2 separate regions of the Homo sapiens genome follow, and region 2 is linked to region 1. Evidence: promoter capture Hi-C in 16 types of primary human blood cells and fetal thymus (Javierre and others, 2016). All regions are on one chromosome and are shown on one strand. The core of a region is centred on a gene start or on the middle of the fragment in contact, and the rest is flanking DNA. Distances in the headings are between cores, read along the strand shown.

The links. The method cuts DNA at HindIII sites, captures the fragments that hold promoters and counts their contacts. A CHiCAGO score of 5 or more calls a contact.
Region 2: a contact is called between a fragment that was not itself captured here and the fragment with the promoter of TRIAP1 in region 1, in 1 of 17 cell types (M0 macrophages). The highest score is 5.2, in M0 macrophages.

Annotation. Positions count from the first base shown.
Region 1 is chr12:120,443,047-120,450,608 of GRCh38, forward strand. It overlaps TRIAP1 (TP53 regulated inhibitor of apoptosis 1), which reads right to left and starts at 3,338. Exons shown (of 2, transcript NM_016399.3): 1 at 3,180-3,338; 2 at 918-1,909. The coding sequence starts at 3,326. The coding sequence ends at 1,826. It overlaps GATC (glutamyl-tRNA amidotransferase subunit C), which reads left to right and starts at 3,398. Exons shown (of 4, transcript NM_176818.3): 1 at 3,398-3,515; 2 at 3,611-3,783. The coding sequence starts at 3,435. It also overlaps the pseudogene RPL31P52. RefSeq lists enhancers at 2,520-3,367, 2,679-3,878, 3,093-3,642, 3,240-3,534, 3,368-4,213. The HindIII fragment of the contact is 13,544 bases long and covers 1,962-7,562 here.
Region 2 is chr12:121,016,155-121,023,707 of GRCh38, forward strand. It overlaps OASL (2'-5'-oligoadenylate synthetase like), which reads right to left. Exons shown (of 6, transcript NM_003733.4): 6 at 2,957-4,904. The coding sequence ends at 4,407. C12orf43 (chromosome 12 open reading frame 43) reads right to left here and starts at 333. Exons shown (of 6, transcript NM_022895.3): 1 at 176-333. The coding sequence starts at 320. RefSeq lists enhancers at 1-27, 1-508 and a silencer at 236-429. The HindIII fragment of the contact is 612 bases long and covers 1,729-2,340 here.

The DNA.
Region 1 (7,562 bases), core at 2,088-4,587:
ATAGAATTAGGGCCTTCTATAAATCAAGTTTCTTGGTTTATTTTTCAGACAGGGTCTTGCTGTGTCACCCAGCCTGGAGTGCAGTGGTACAATCACAGCTCACTGCAGTCTCCACCTCTCAGGCTCAGGTAATTCTCCCACCTCAGCCTTTAGAGTAGCTGGGACTACAGGCACACACCACCATACCCAGCTAATTTTTTTGTAGAGACAGGGTTTCGCTATGTTGCCCAGGCTGGTCTCAAATTCCTGAGCTCAAGTGATCCGCCCATCCCAGCTTCCCAAAGTGTTAAGACTACAGGCATGAGCCACCATACCCGGCCTGTAATTCAAGTTTCATACTACTTTGGGTATCTAATAAAACCAAATTACTCAATTAATTGTGGGGATTACGTGACATTCTGAGGTAAGTAAGTGCTCTCCTGATCCTTTTTTGGTACCGTAGTGTATTTGTATAGCCTATTGTGGAAATTTTAGAAATCAGTGAGGTTTTGGCTGGGTGCGGTGGCTCATGCCTGTAATCCCAGCACTTCGGGAGGTCAAGAGTTCAAGACCAGCCAACATGGTGAAACCCCATCTCTACTAAAAATACAAAAACTAGCTGGGCATGGTGATGCATGCCTGTAATCCCAGCTACTTGGGAGACTGAGGCAGGAGAATCATTGGAACCCAGGAGGTGGAGTTTGCAGTAAGACAAGATTGCGCCACTGCACTCCAGCCTGGGTGACAGAACCAGACTGTCTCAAAAAAAAAAAATGTGAGGTTTCTGATTGCCATACTGTACCACCTAGCTTAAGACAAGTCACTTTTTCTTCACCTTTAAGTTACAAAACACAAAACTCTCCCCACTGTATATATGAGGTTTGTAGGGTAACAGGGTAATAGTTCCATAAAATGCACTGAGTTCCAGAGGCAAATAATGATAGAAACTAAATGTTACAATTTATTCCATCTTCAGGATTACAGACATTACAGGGCAGGATGAGTAAACAAGGCAAATGAAGCGAGCACCTTCAGCTTCCCCCCTACCCCGACATTTAACCAGATGCAGCATTTTGACATTTTTAGGATATGCAGGTTGACAATTCACTGACTTGGGTTGAGAGCTGGCAATAGCAGATCTTTGCAATTTAGGTTCTTCCTCCACAGCTATTCCAAGTATCTTAATTCCTGAACTGCACACTGAGAGCTCTGAAATGGTGTTCACTGCAACATTCTTGCAGCTTTCACATCTTAATCTGACACCTCTTGTGAAGGCAGGGAACTGTGTTAAAAGCTGTCTTCCTCTTTGCTAATCCAGGCCACCATCAATCTTAACCATTAGTTACTATATAAAAATAAAAGTGTGCTCAAAAGCACTCACTGAAACTGTTGTGCCCAGATCCCTTTTCAGAGCATTAGTTCCCTGAGAGGAAAAAAAGAGGTCCTAACCAATTGCTTTCATAAATAGTGACCCCAGTACAGTGTATATGTCTTTTGCAGCAGAAATCAAGAGGTCAGGCAGCTCTGCTCATCCTGACTAGTTTATCATCGTTTGCATACAAGGTATATTTATGTAAAGCTGATTCCACGCCAAGTATTGCAACCATAATCTCAAAAAAATTGTTCAATTTTAGCACACAGTTCCTGCAAGATACCACAGCAGGTGAGAAATCATCTCAAAGAGTTCATCTTTTACAACTGAGAGGAAAACATCGAAGGAGGAAATAAAACTCCTCTCTCCTAAGTTCCTCATCAAATCTGATGGCTATGTTCACAGAGTTAGTTGACAAAAATCCAGAGTCCTCAATTTCTGGACTTGCGAAATCCTTCAAGGTGACTGTCAAGGTCAAGAAGAATTTTCAGGCTTTTCTTTGCCATGGCCCATGAACTCCAGTCCTTCAATAGGAATCTCTTTCTCCTTTATTGCTTTCTGGTAGGAGGAGAAAACACATTATAAAGACCTACATGAAGCTTAAGTTGCAAGCTTTGTAAATAAAATATGACAGTACAAAAGTAAAATCAAGCTGATTATAAAGACTTATAACCATGATTCAAACCACATACTTTTTAAAAAACAAGTACCGGTCAGGTGTGGTGGCTCACGCCTATAATCGCAGCATTTTGGGAGACCAAGGCAGGTGGATCACTTGAGGCCAGAAGTTAGAGACCAACCTGGCCAACATGGCGAGACCCTGTTTATACTAAAAATACAAAAATTAGCTGGGCATGGTGGCGCATGCCTGTAAGCCCAGCTACTCGGGTGGCTGAGGCATGAGAATAGCTTGAACCTGGGAGGCGGAGGTTGCAGTGAGCTGAGATTGTGCCATTGCACTCCAGGCTGGGAGACAGAGTGAGACTCTGCCTCAAAAATAAATAAAAACCAGAAGTACCATAATGAATAAATCAAGTGTAAGACCTGAGGGAGACTGGAAAAGGAGTTGTGAGGGAACCGTTAAAATTAAGTGAAATTTGAAAAATAATCATCACTTTGTGTTAGTGAAAGACTTAGGTTCAAATCTGGGTTCCAGGACTTACTGGCTATGTGACTAACTGTAAATGGGATGAAGACAGCAACTACCTCGGGGAATTGCTGTGAGGATGTGTTGGGTTAACTTATTGGAAGTGCTTTGCCCGGTGCTGTTCTTAACAATTCAAAGCAGTTCCACATCCATTGGGCCAGAATAAACATTTCCTGGCTGCAGTTGCGGGGACTGGTCAAGAGAGAGAAACAGGCTAACGAAGGGTTTATAACAACAAAAAAATGTGACCCTCCAGTCTGAATTCTGAAGTATAATCCCGCCCAGACCCCAGCAGTAATAGTGGAAAAGTGCACCACCTGCGAAAGAACCAAGGAAACCTGATGCTAGTGAACTCGGATTAATCACTTCCTATTTCTGGGTGTTAGTTTTTTATGTATAAAATATGAGTAACTATGCCCACCTTGCGAGTTTAGGGTGAACACCAAATGAACCAAAGGATGTGACTGTGCTTCTTGAAAAGCACTGCCCCAATATTTGTCATTCGGAGAGACACCCAAGTGGCCTCGGTGGTGATGGTAGGGGAGCGAGCTCCTGCCACTGGCCTCACTGCGACTTTTCTCCACCCTTCCAGTCCAGTCCCAATCCCCGTAAAATACGATGAGTGTGGTGGGACACAGCGCCGAGAATGCAGGGCCTGGGAACAGAGGCGGGAGGGCTCACCTGAACACACTGCTGGTAGCGCTTGAAGAGGTCGGTGCACGGGTCCCCGGAGCTGTCCCCCTTGAGAAATTTCTCGGCGAACCAGCGATTGAAGCACTGGTCGTACTCGCGCTTCATGTCCGTGCATGCCTCCCCCACACTGTTCATGGCGACAGTGGTGGCGGCGGCGACGACGGCGCACTCTGATGTCATCACTCTCAGGCGCGTCGCTCGGCGTTACGCGCGGGCGCACTGCGGGGGCCAAGGAAGGAAGAAATGTGGTCGCGGTTGGTGTGGCTGGGCCTTCGGGCCCCTCTGGGCGGGCGCCAGGGCTTCACCTCCAAGGCGGATCCTCAGGTAAAGGCCAGGGCCATCTAGGCGGGTGGCGGAGCAAGCCGGGAGGCACTTCGGAGCGCCGGTGACCCACACTCCCCGCCTCATCCCTCCTCCAGGGCAGTGGCCGGATCACGGCTGCGGTGATCGAGCACCTGGAGCGTCTAGCGCTTGTGGACTTCGGCAGCCGCGAGGCAGTGGCGCGACTGGAGAAAGCTATCGCCTTCGCCGACCGGCTACGCGCCGTGGACACAGACGGGGTGGAGCCCATGGAATCGGTCCTGGAGGACAGGTAAACTCGCGGCTGCAGCCCCGAAGCCTTGACCGTGGCCCGTTCGCAGCCGTTTAATGTGACGATTAGCGAACAGTTTTCCAGGGGGTTAAAGAGTGTTAGCAAGATTCAGGAACTTGCCCACAGTCACCTCGCGAGTCAGTGGCTTCACTCTTCCCCTTGTTCATTACTGATGCTCTCGCTAGTGTAAGTGGAAACAAAACCCGAACTGCTAATCACTGCCTTTGTTTTTTTTTTTGTTTGTTTGTTTTGTTTTTTTTTTTTTGAGACGGAGTCTCGCTGTGTTGCCTAGGCTGGAGTGCAGTGGCTCGATCTCGGCTCACTGCAACCTCCGCCTCCCGTGTTCAAGCAATTCTCTGCCTCAGCCTCCCGAGTAGCTGGGATTACAGGCGACTGCCACCAGGCCCGGCTTATTTTTTTTGTATTTTTAGTAGAGACGTGGTTTCACCATCTTGGCCAGGTTGGTCTTGAACTCCTGACCGTGATCCACCCGCCTCGGCCTCCCAAAGTGCTGGGATTACAGGTGTGAGCCACCGCGCCTGGCCTAATCATCGCCTTTAAGGCCCTACTCCATAGAGTCCCTACCTACTCACTCCAACGTACTCTTCTCAGTACTCTCCTTGGCTACCTTGACTGCTTCTCCAGCAAGACAAGTTCTTTTCCTCTCTAGATCTCTGCACTGGCCCTTCGTTTTTTTCCTTCCTCTCAGTATTTGCATGGCTGCCTCCCTCTTGGCACAGGTCTCAGCTTATCTTCTCAGAAAGGGCTCTCCTAACCACTCCAAATCCCTTCTCCCCTTCTAGTTAGTAACTCATCCTATTGGGTTTTTTCCCTAACATTTTAATGGACTTTTGTTCATTTGTTATATCTCTTTTATTAAAATGTGAGCTCATTATGTAGTTACTGTTTTATTCCTGCCTTGAATTTTTATTTTATTTGTTTTTGAGATGGAGTCTCACTCTATCACCCAGGTTAGAGTGCAGTGGCATGATCTCAGCTCATTGTAATGTCCACCTCCCAGACTCAAGAGAGCCTCCCATCTCAGCCTCCCAAGTACAGGACCACAGGCGCGTGCCACTTGGCCTGGCTAATTTTTTGTATTTTTGATAGAGACGGGATTTTGCCATGTTCCCCAGGCTTGTCTGGACTCCTGAGCAAAGGTGATCCACCCATCTCAGCCTCCTAAAGTACTGGGATTACAGGCATGAGCCACAGCACCTGGCCGTGTTTGATTCTTTCAAATGTCTTCTCTACTTTGCAATTTTCTTTTTCCTTTGGGACGGGGTCTCACTATGTTGCCCAGGCTGGTCGCAAACTTCTAGACTCAAGAGATCCTCCTGCCTCAGCCTCCCAAATAGCTGGGACTATAGGTGTGCACCACCACACCTGGCTAATACTTAAAATTTTTGTAGAAACGGGGTCTTGCCATGTTGCCCCATATGGTCTCAAACTCCTGGTCTCAAGCAATCCTCCTGCCTCAGCCTCCCACTTCCTCAAGAAAGTTTTTTTTTTTTTTTGAGGTGGAGTCCTGCCCCATCACCCAGGCTGGAGTGCAGTGGCATGATCTTGGCTCACTGCAACCTCCACCCTCCAGGTTCAAGTGATTTTTGTGCCTCAGCCTCCGGAGTAGCTGGGATTACAGGCACCCGCCACCACACTCAGCTAGTTTTTGCATTTTTAGTAGAGACAGGGTTTCACCATGTTGACCAGGCTGGTCTCGAACCCCTGGCCTCAAGTGATCCGCCCATCTTCGCCTCCCAAAGTGCTGGGATTACAGGTATGAGTCACTGCACTGGCCAAAAAAGTCCATTCCTTTTTTTTTTTTTTTTTTTTTGAGACGGAGTTTCACTCTTCCACCCAGGCTGGAGTACAGTGGTGCAATCTCAGCTCACTGCAACCTCCACCTTCCGGTTTCAAGTGATTCTCTTGCCTCAGCCTCCCGAGTAGCTGGGACTACAGGCGCCCGCCACCACGCCCAGCTAATTTTTGTATTTTTAATAGAGACGGGGTTTCACCATGTTGGCCAGGCTGGTCTCGAACTCATGACCTCACAGTCCACCCGCCTCGGCCTCCCAAAGTGCTGGGATTATAGGCGTGAGCCACAAGTCTTCATTCTTTTATACTTAGGTTCTTTTTTTTTTTTTTTAATTGAGACAAGAGTCTCGCTCTGTCGCTGAGGCTGGAGTGCAGTGGCGTGATCTTGGCTCACTGCAAGTTCCGCCTCCTGGGTTCATGCCATTCTCCTGCCTCAGCCTCCCAAGTAGCTGGGTCTACAAGTGCCCACTACCACGCCTGGCTAATTTTTTGTATTTTTAGTAGAGATGAGGTTTCACCGTAGCCAAGATGGTCTCGATCTCCTGACCTCGTGATCTGCCCACCTCAGCCTCCCAAAGGTGCTGATTACAGGCGTGAGCCACTGTGCCTGGCTATACTTAGGTTCTCTACCTGTGGCTCTCGTGATATCCAAAAGGGCTGATTTATACATGCGTTTATACATCTATTTAAGGGATGTGTTGAGTCTCTGCCCCTCTCCTGCTCACCCACCTTCCACAGCATGTCTGTTTTTCCTTATCATGTTCTCAGTGGTTGGCACTGAGTATTCAGTAAATGTGTTTTGTTTTGTTTTGTTTTGTTTTTTTGAGATGGAGTCTCACTCTGTTGCCCACGCTGGAGGCAGTGGCGTGATCTCGGCTCACTGCAACCTCTGCCTCCTGGGTTTGAGATTCTCTTGCCTCAGCTTCCCGAGCACCCGGGATTACAGGCATGCACCACCATGCCTGGTTAATTTTTGTATTTTTAGTAGAGAGGGGTTTCACCATGTTGGCAAGGCTCGTCTTGAACTCCTGACCTCAGGTGATCTGCCTGCCTCAGCCTCCCAAAGTGCTGGGAATACAGCCTTGAGCTGCCGTGCCCGGCCACAGTAAATGTTTAATGAATTTTTTTTTTTTTAGAGACAGAGTTTTGCTCACGTTGCCCAGGCTGGAGTGCAATGGCGCGATCTCAGCTCACCACAACCTCTGCCTCCCAGGTTCAAGCGATTCTCCTGCCTCAGCCTCCCAAGTAGCTGGGATTACAGGTGCACGCCACCACGCCCAGCTAATTTTGTATTTTTAGTAGAGACAGGGTTTCTCCATGTTGGTCAGGCTGGTCTCAAACTCCCGACCTCAGGTGATCTGCCCACCTTGGCCTCCCAAAGTGCTGGGATTACAGGCATGAGCCACCATGCCCGGTCCCAGTGTTCTTTATTAATATCTCTAGGAAAGGAGGGACTAGAAGCACAGAGTCATCAGAATTTCCCCAAGTTATCTAGAGGGTAAATACAAAGAAATATAACCATCATTAATAAGGGAAAAGGTCGTGAAAAAAGATGAGGAATTTGGATCCAGTAGCTAGCATCTCAACCTCGTATTCAGTGATCTGTACTGTTTTTCATAAATTTGGAAACCAGTTTGGGTTAATAATTCCCATTAATCATTTTAATGTGACATCTGTAGGACTTTAATGCTTTGAACACACAGAATGTAAAGTGAAGACAAGTATTAAACCTTTTATTTTTTATTTTTTTGTAGTTTTTATAACTTCATTTGATGTATTTGATGATCAGCAGTTAGTTCCCATCCACACTGACTGTAGATTTGTGAAAGTGGTAACAAGTATATAACCAAAGTATAGAGCTTATTTGGTGAATTTCTAACCTCATTATGTTTTCTGGACCATCCACTGCACATGGACACAGTATGGACATTCCTTACTACTTTGGCCCAGACAGCTTTGTTGAG
Region 2 (7,553 bases), core at 785-3,284, 570 kb after region 1:
AATACCCTCCCTACTGCACCTGCCCATGCTTTCAATCTGCACTACACCCAGTCCCTGGAGGTCTCTCGGGGAAGGAAGCCGAGTCCCAGTGACTCTCTCCTCACCATCCATCCTCTCAGGCTCCAGGGGAAGATCCCACGCCCCTCAGCCAGTCTCCCCAAACATAGTACCCTACCGGCTCTTGGCTTCCCTGCCACGTGCGGGCGTTGCTCCAAGCCCCAAGCCGGCATTGCCGCCTCGCGGCACCGCTCCAGCTCCTCCGCATCGCTACTGCTGTTACTACTTTCCGAATCGCTCACTGTGCCACTGGGCGCCGCCATCTTGAACCACCGCAAAGGATTGTGGAGAACACCGCCGTTATCAAGCCTCCTTCATGACGTCACGTGAGAGGAGAGGCGCGAGGCATTGTGGGGATTGTAGTTCCAAGACTTGGACCGCCATTGGCCATGAACTGTACTGGGTTGGGGATACCAGGTGGGAATGGGGAGGTGGGCGGTTCTCAAAGGCAAGAGCTAGAAGGGCCTAAGAGATTAACTTCTCCAATCATTTCTTGATGACAGATCTCCAGAGGGGATGGGAATCTCCTAAGGAGTTAATGACAGACCCAGGATTAGTTCCCAGGTTTTGATTCCATGTCATTTATTCTAGTAATTTCCCAGTCCAGCTGGGCCTAAGAAACACCTTAGAGAGCTGGTTAAACTGCAGACTTTTGGGTCTCACAGAAAATACTAACAGAATCAGAATCTCTGATAGGTGGAATCCAGGAATCTGTATTTCCTTTAATAGCCTAGGGCCTTACTACTTAAGAGTGTAGTCCATGAGCCAGCAGCATTGGTAACACCTGGGAGCTCGTTAGAAATGCAGAATCCAGGCTGGGCACGGTGGCTCACGCCTGTAATCCCAACACTTTGGGGGGCTGAGGCAGGCAGATCACAAGGTCAGGAGTTCGAGACCAGCCTGGCCAACATAGTGAAACCCCATCTCTACTAAAAATACAAAAATTAGCTGGGCATGGTGGCACGCACCTGTAGTCCCAGCTACTCAGGAGGCTGAGGCAGGAAAATCACTTGAACCTGGGAGGTGGAGGTTGAGGTGAGCCAAGATCGTGCCACTGCACTCCAGCCTGGGCAACAGACTGAGACTCTGTCTCGAAAAAAAAAAAAGAGAAATGCAGAATCCTGTCCGGGCACGGTGGCTCACATCTGTAATCCCAACACTTTGTGAGGCCGAGGCGGGCAGATCATGAGGTCAGGAGTTCGAGACTAGCCTGACCAACATGGTGAAACCCCATCTCTACTAAAAATACAAAAATTAGCCAGGCAATACTGACTCCCAGGACCCATCCAAGACCAAAAAATTAGAATCTCTGTGGTTAAAATACCTCACAGTGAAGGATGAACAAAATCACTTTACTTTTGTGTGTGGAATGCTGTTTCATGTTTTATCTTTGAAGACAGGTATGTCAAAACTTTACTAAAATAAACTCTCTGGCCTTGAGCTTTTTCTATTTCAAAGAAGAGGAAGGTGACTGATATGGTCTGAATGTGTTCCTCCAAAATTCATATGTTAAAATTGACACCATAAAATAAATAACAGAGAGACTGACTCTCCAAAATAAAGCGTTTATTCCAGAATTGCAAGGAATTGCAATTTGAGATATGCATGCTATAGTGGACTATAGGCACATTAAAAGAGGTTGTGGCAACGAGAAAAGACAAAGTCCACATAAGCTTCTTTAAAACAAGTACCGTTGATCACAGGAGCCTGTTGCAGGAGTTGGCTTTAGCTTATTGTGGAGACACCCACTGTTAGGCAAATATTCTTATGCAAGTGGTTTATCTATAATACTGCGGATTTTAGGAACTTCTTGAGATAATTTTTGTGACAGGCATTTGTTAGGGTTTGACATAAGTGACTCCATTTTGATACTGATAATTTCCAAAAAGTCCTTACTCCCAAGGTGATGGTATTAGGAGGTGGGACCTCTGGGAAGTAATTAGTGAAAGGGTCTTGTGTTGGTTCGAACCCCAAGAGCGTGGCCAACAGACAACATGAGGCAGTGTGTGTGCAGGTGGGCTGAGGCTTAAAATGGCGTCAGCACCAAATGAGGACGGGGCAGGGGTTTTGTAGTCTCCTGTAAACAGGAAGTTTCTCAGTCTGTTGTAACCGCTACATTGTACCCGGATGACGTCTCTCTCGGTCTTCAGGGGGTAGGTGTCTTCTGGCCCGCTCTCTTCCCGCTTCTGCTATCTTGCTGACACATGCTGCTGGCGCGAGTGGCCTTGCGCCTTGGGACCGGGCCCAAGGAGGGAGGGGAGGGAGGGGTCATTCATTCTCTTAAGCTTTCAGGCCCCACGGAGAATCTTTCAATTACATAATGGGTCCTGAGCCCTCATGAACTGGATCAATGCCTTCATAAAAGAGACCCCAGAGGCCAGGCATGGTGGCTCACAACTGTAATCCCAGCACTGTGGGAGGCCAAGACAGGTGGATCACAAGGTCAGGAGTTCGAGACTAGCCTGGCCAAGATGGTGAAACCCCGTCTCTACTAAAAATAAAAAAAAAATTAGCTGGGCACAGTGGTAGGTGCCTGTAGTCCCAGCTACTCGGGAGGCTGAGGCAGGAGAATCGCTTGAACCTCGGAGGCAGAGGTTGCAGGGAGCTGAGATCATGCCAATGCACTCTAGCCTGGGTGACAGAGCGAGACTCCATCTCAAAAAAAAAAAAAAAAAAAAAAAGAAGCGATCCTAGAGACACCTTTGCCTCTTCTACCATGTGAAGACTTAGTGAGAAGCTGCCATCTGTGAATCAGGAAGAGGTCCTCACCAGACACCAAATCTGCCAGTGTCTTGACTTGGACTTCCCAGCCTCCAGAGCTGTAAGAAATAAATGGTTATTGTTCATGAGCCATCCAGTGTATGGTATTTTGTTTTAGCAGCCCAGATGGACTAAGACATTGCATTTTTCATTCTTTTTTTTATTTTAAACAAGAATTTTCCCACCACCTACAATGTGGGCTGTGCTGGGCATTATGAAGGACACAAAGATGGGGACTGGAACAGCCTGTCTACCTCCTGGAAAGGAGGCACTTTTTCTGTCCCTGAAGGCAAACAGAGGTGGGAGATACACAGATTATGATTGCTAAATTGACCAGAGGCTGTTGATAACCAATTGCAGTGTGCATTTTCTATGCTATGGTAGGAGAGTAGCCCACCAGAAAACTAGGCAAAACAGGGGGGCAAAAGGAAACTTTTTATTGCTTGGAGTAAACCTGATCACATGACGTCCTTTGATAATAAAGATGCTATTACTTTCCTACAGTTTCCTGACTATTATGTACTGTTTGTGTATGGGTTTTAGGAGTTGAGGTGATTTTTTTTTACACTGCATCATCCTCAATCTCCCATTCTTTGTCTCTTTTTGCCTCAGTTTCCCCAGTCCTCATTTCTTAGAGTTGAGAAGCTCAAATGATCAAGCAATAACCATTAGGACAGCATTAGGCCCTGTGGAAATAAACAGCCCCCAAATGAGAACTAACAAAGGCGATTTATTCCCAACTTGCTATAGCAAAGGAACCAGCCACCCATCTCTCGCTTTTGACAGAGATTTAAAGACAGGCAGGAAAATGGGAAGGCTTCAGGGATGCCGTGATTGAGGCTGTTGGTATGGGGAAGCTGGAAGTGCACTCACCAGAAGTGGGGCTAACCATGTGATTGGTCTGGGGAGCTTATTTGGGTTTCTTGGGTTGGTCATAAATAGGAAGCAGGATGGGAGTAGGGTGGGGAGTTAGAGATGCTGCCAGTTATCGCCCAAGTCCTGATGGTTTGGGGTTGATTGCTGCAGAAGGCTGTGGGTCCGAATTCTGTTGCTGTGCGTCATGTGACCACACTATTTATTTGTATATTTAGTCCTCACACCCCTCCTCATCCTCCCCCTGGCAGGGCTGGGATAATCCTTTTTTTAAACGGATTTACTTATTTTTATGTTTTAGTTTTTAGACACAGGGTCTTGCTCTGTGGCCTGGGCAGGAGTGTAGCGGTGTGATCACAGCTCACTGCAGCTTCAGCCTCCTGGGCTCAAGTGATTCTTCTGCCTCAGCTTCTTGAGTGCCTGAGACTACAAATGTGCACAACCACACCCAGTGAATTATTTTTTTATTTTGTAGAGACGGGGTCTCCCTGTGATACCCAGGCTGGTCTTGAACTCCTCGGCTCAAGCGCTCCTCCCACCTCGGCCTCCCAAAGTTCTGGGATTACAGGTGTGAGCTACCACGTCTGGCCTGGGATAACTCATTGTAAAACTGGTGAAGACCTGGGACCTTCCCAGTAGACAATGGGACAGAGTGATTGACAGGATGAGTTCTGGAGTACATGGCAGAAATGTACAGAGAAGTCTCCCAGAGAAAACTAACTGGCTGGAAACAGAGCCTCTCCTTTCTTCTTCGAGAGGATGAGAGTGTCACTGTCTTGGATGCCATAGATCCCCAGACCCAACCAGTCCTGCAGGACTTGGCCTTGGAATTCCAGCTGCTGCTGCTTTTTAGGAAGCCCCTGCTGGTCTTCAATCTGCTGCTTCAGACCCAGGATGAAGCTGTTGGGGTTGATGGCATAGGCGTAGCTCCCACCATCAGGATTCTTCACGAAGACCTGGATCTCGGAGGGGATGGTCTCCAGCAGATAGATGTGAGTGTGGGAGAAGATCCCATATTTGGCTAAGGAGCACCTGCTGCTGAGAAGCTGCCTCTCACTGCCAGGAACCTGGAAGGACAGACGCTGCAGGCCAGAGTAGCCCCTGGTCCTCCGGATTTTCTCTTTAACCTTCCTTATGGGCTCATAAGGGTTCACGATGAGGTTGAAATCTGGGTAACCCCTCTGCTCCACTGTCAAGTGGATGTCTCGTGCCCTCTGGAAGGGAGAGGGAGAAGGAGAGGTGTTAAGTCCACACTTCTTTGTCTGATGTGCAAATGTTCCCTTCATCTGTCCTTATCTTTACAATAGTAGCAGCAGCAGCGGCAGCAGCAAATGTTTAGGGAGTGGTAAGCACTTTCCAGGCTGTATGCTGAGCACCTTCCATACCCTTAATGCATTTTATTCTCAGAGCATCTCTATTAGTTGGTTGGTTCTACTGTTACCCCCATGTTATTGATGAGGAAACTGAGCAGGGTTAGGTAATTTACTGAACACCAATCACATAGGTAGTAAGGAGCAGGGCAGATATGTGAAGTGAGGTTGGTCAGACTCCAGAGTCTGTGTTCTCACCACCTCCAGAGGCTACACTCCAGGGCCTGAGAGCCCCAGGTGGCTGGAGAGCACCTGGAAAATGCTGGCGAGGGTCAGGCCTCTAGCTGATTCTTTCCAGAAGAAATATAAGCCTTGGCTGGGTGCAGTGGCTCACGCCTGTATTCCCAGCACTTTGGGAGGCCAAGGCGGGCAGATCACTTGAGGTCAGGAGTTTGAGACCAGCCTGGCCAACATGGCAAAACCTATCTCTACCAAAAAATGCAAAAATTAGCCGGGTGTGGTGGCGTATGCCTGTAGTCCCAGCTACTCGGAAGGCTGAAGTGGGAGAATCTCTTGAACACAGGAGGTGGAGGTTGCAGTGAGCTGAGATCGCACCACTGCACTCCAGCCTGGGCAACAAAGGGAGACTCTGTCTCAAAAGGAAAACAAAAAAAGAAAAAGAAAAAGAAATATAAGCCTGGCATTGCCAAGTTTTCTGACTAGCCAAGATAAAAAATATTTGCACAATGTTGTGTGTGTTTGTTTTGTTTTTTGAGACAGGGCCTTGCCCTGTCACCTCAGGCTGCAGTGCAGTGGTGCAATCTTAACTCACTGCGCCTTGACCTCCCAAGCTGAAGCGATCCTCCCGCCTCAGTTTCCTGAGTAGCTGGGACCACAGGTGCGTGCCACCACATCTGGCTAAGTTTTGTTCTTTTTTTTTTTTTTTTTTTTCAGATGGAATCTCACTCTGTTGCCAGGCTAGAGTGCAGTGGCACGATCTTGGCTCACTGCAACCTCCGCCTCCCAGGTTCAAGCGATTCTCCTGCCTCAGCCTCCCTAGTAGCTGGGACTACAGGCACATGCCACCACACCCAGCTAATTTTTGTATTTTTAGTAGAGATGAGGTTTTACCATGTTGGCCAGGATGGTTTCGATCTCTTGACCTCGTGATCTGCCCACCTCGGCCTCCCAAAGTGCTGGGATTACAGATGTGAGCCACCGCACCTGGCCAAGTTTTGTATTTTTAGTAGAGACGGGGTTTCACCATGTTGCCTAGGCTGGTCTTGAACTGTTGGGCTCAAGGGATCCACCCGCCTCAGCCCCTCAAAGTGCTGTGATTACAGGCGTGCGCCACTGCCCCCAGCCTACAATGGCTTTTATATTCAGGAAAAATCCAGAGGCGTATATTTTCCAGCCCATGGGTGGGCCTCCTCATTTGGCCAGCGGGTCCCCCCGTTTATACTCTATGTACCTTACTGGAGCCTCTGATTCTGCTTCTGCCTTCTGCTCCAAGCAGTTCAGTCTCCTGTCCTGTACACATCTTGCTCATCCCAGCCTCCCATCCTTTACCCCTCATCATCCTTTGTCCTCTGTTCTGAGTGTCTATATCTCCCCCCGGCCTTTAGGGCTCATTTCAACTCCTAACTTTTTAAAGGAATCTTCTCTGGTGACTTCAGTTAACATTTATTCTGCTTCCAGACCCCCAGAGCCCCTGGTTCTGCTGCCTCTTAGCAGAGTGCCCTTAGTTAATTAACCTCTCTGAGCCTCAGTTTTCTCTTCTGTAAAATGGCAATAATAGTAATGATGATAATAATAATAAAGATAGTGATAACACTCGACCTTCTTACTTTACAGAATTGCTTATGAGGATCAACTGAGACAGACCTTGGACAAGAGCTTTGCACACTAGAAAGTGTGATGTTAATAAAATAGATTTTTGTGATCTCTGCCTATACTATAGGTTTGGCATCATATAATAATATGACTTAGTATTTTTTGTTTGTTTGTTTGTTTTCAGAGTATCTTGTCTTCTCTGGTAATTCTAGCAGTTTTGTGTAAGTTTGTTTCATGGATTTGCTTCCTGACAACATAGGGTGAGTTCTCTGAGAGTGAGGGTGGTGTCTTTTTTTTTTCTTTTTTTCTTTTTTTTTTGAGGCAGAGTTTCCCTCTTGCTGTCCAGGCTGGAGTGCAATGGCACGATCTCAGCTCACTGCAGCCCCCAGCTCCCGGGTTCAAGCGATTCACCTGCCTCTGCCTCCGGAGTAGCAGGGATTATAGGCACCTGCCACCACGCCCGCCTAATTTTGTATTTTTTTAGTAGAGATGGGTTTTTTCCATGTTGGCCGGGCTGGTCTTGAACTCCTGACCTCAAGTGATCCACCTGTCTTGGCCTCCCAAAGTGCTGGGATTACAGGCGTGAACCACCGCACCTGGCCGAGCGTCGTGGTCATGTCTTATTTCTGTGCCTGTGTTGTCCCCCAGCCCACATCCCCTACCCCATCCCTGAGAACAGCACTGGCACAGAATGGCTGATTGAGCTGACTTGGCTGGACC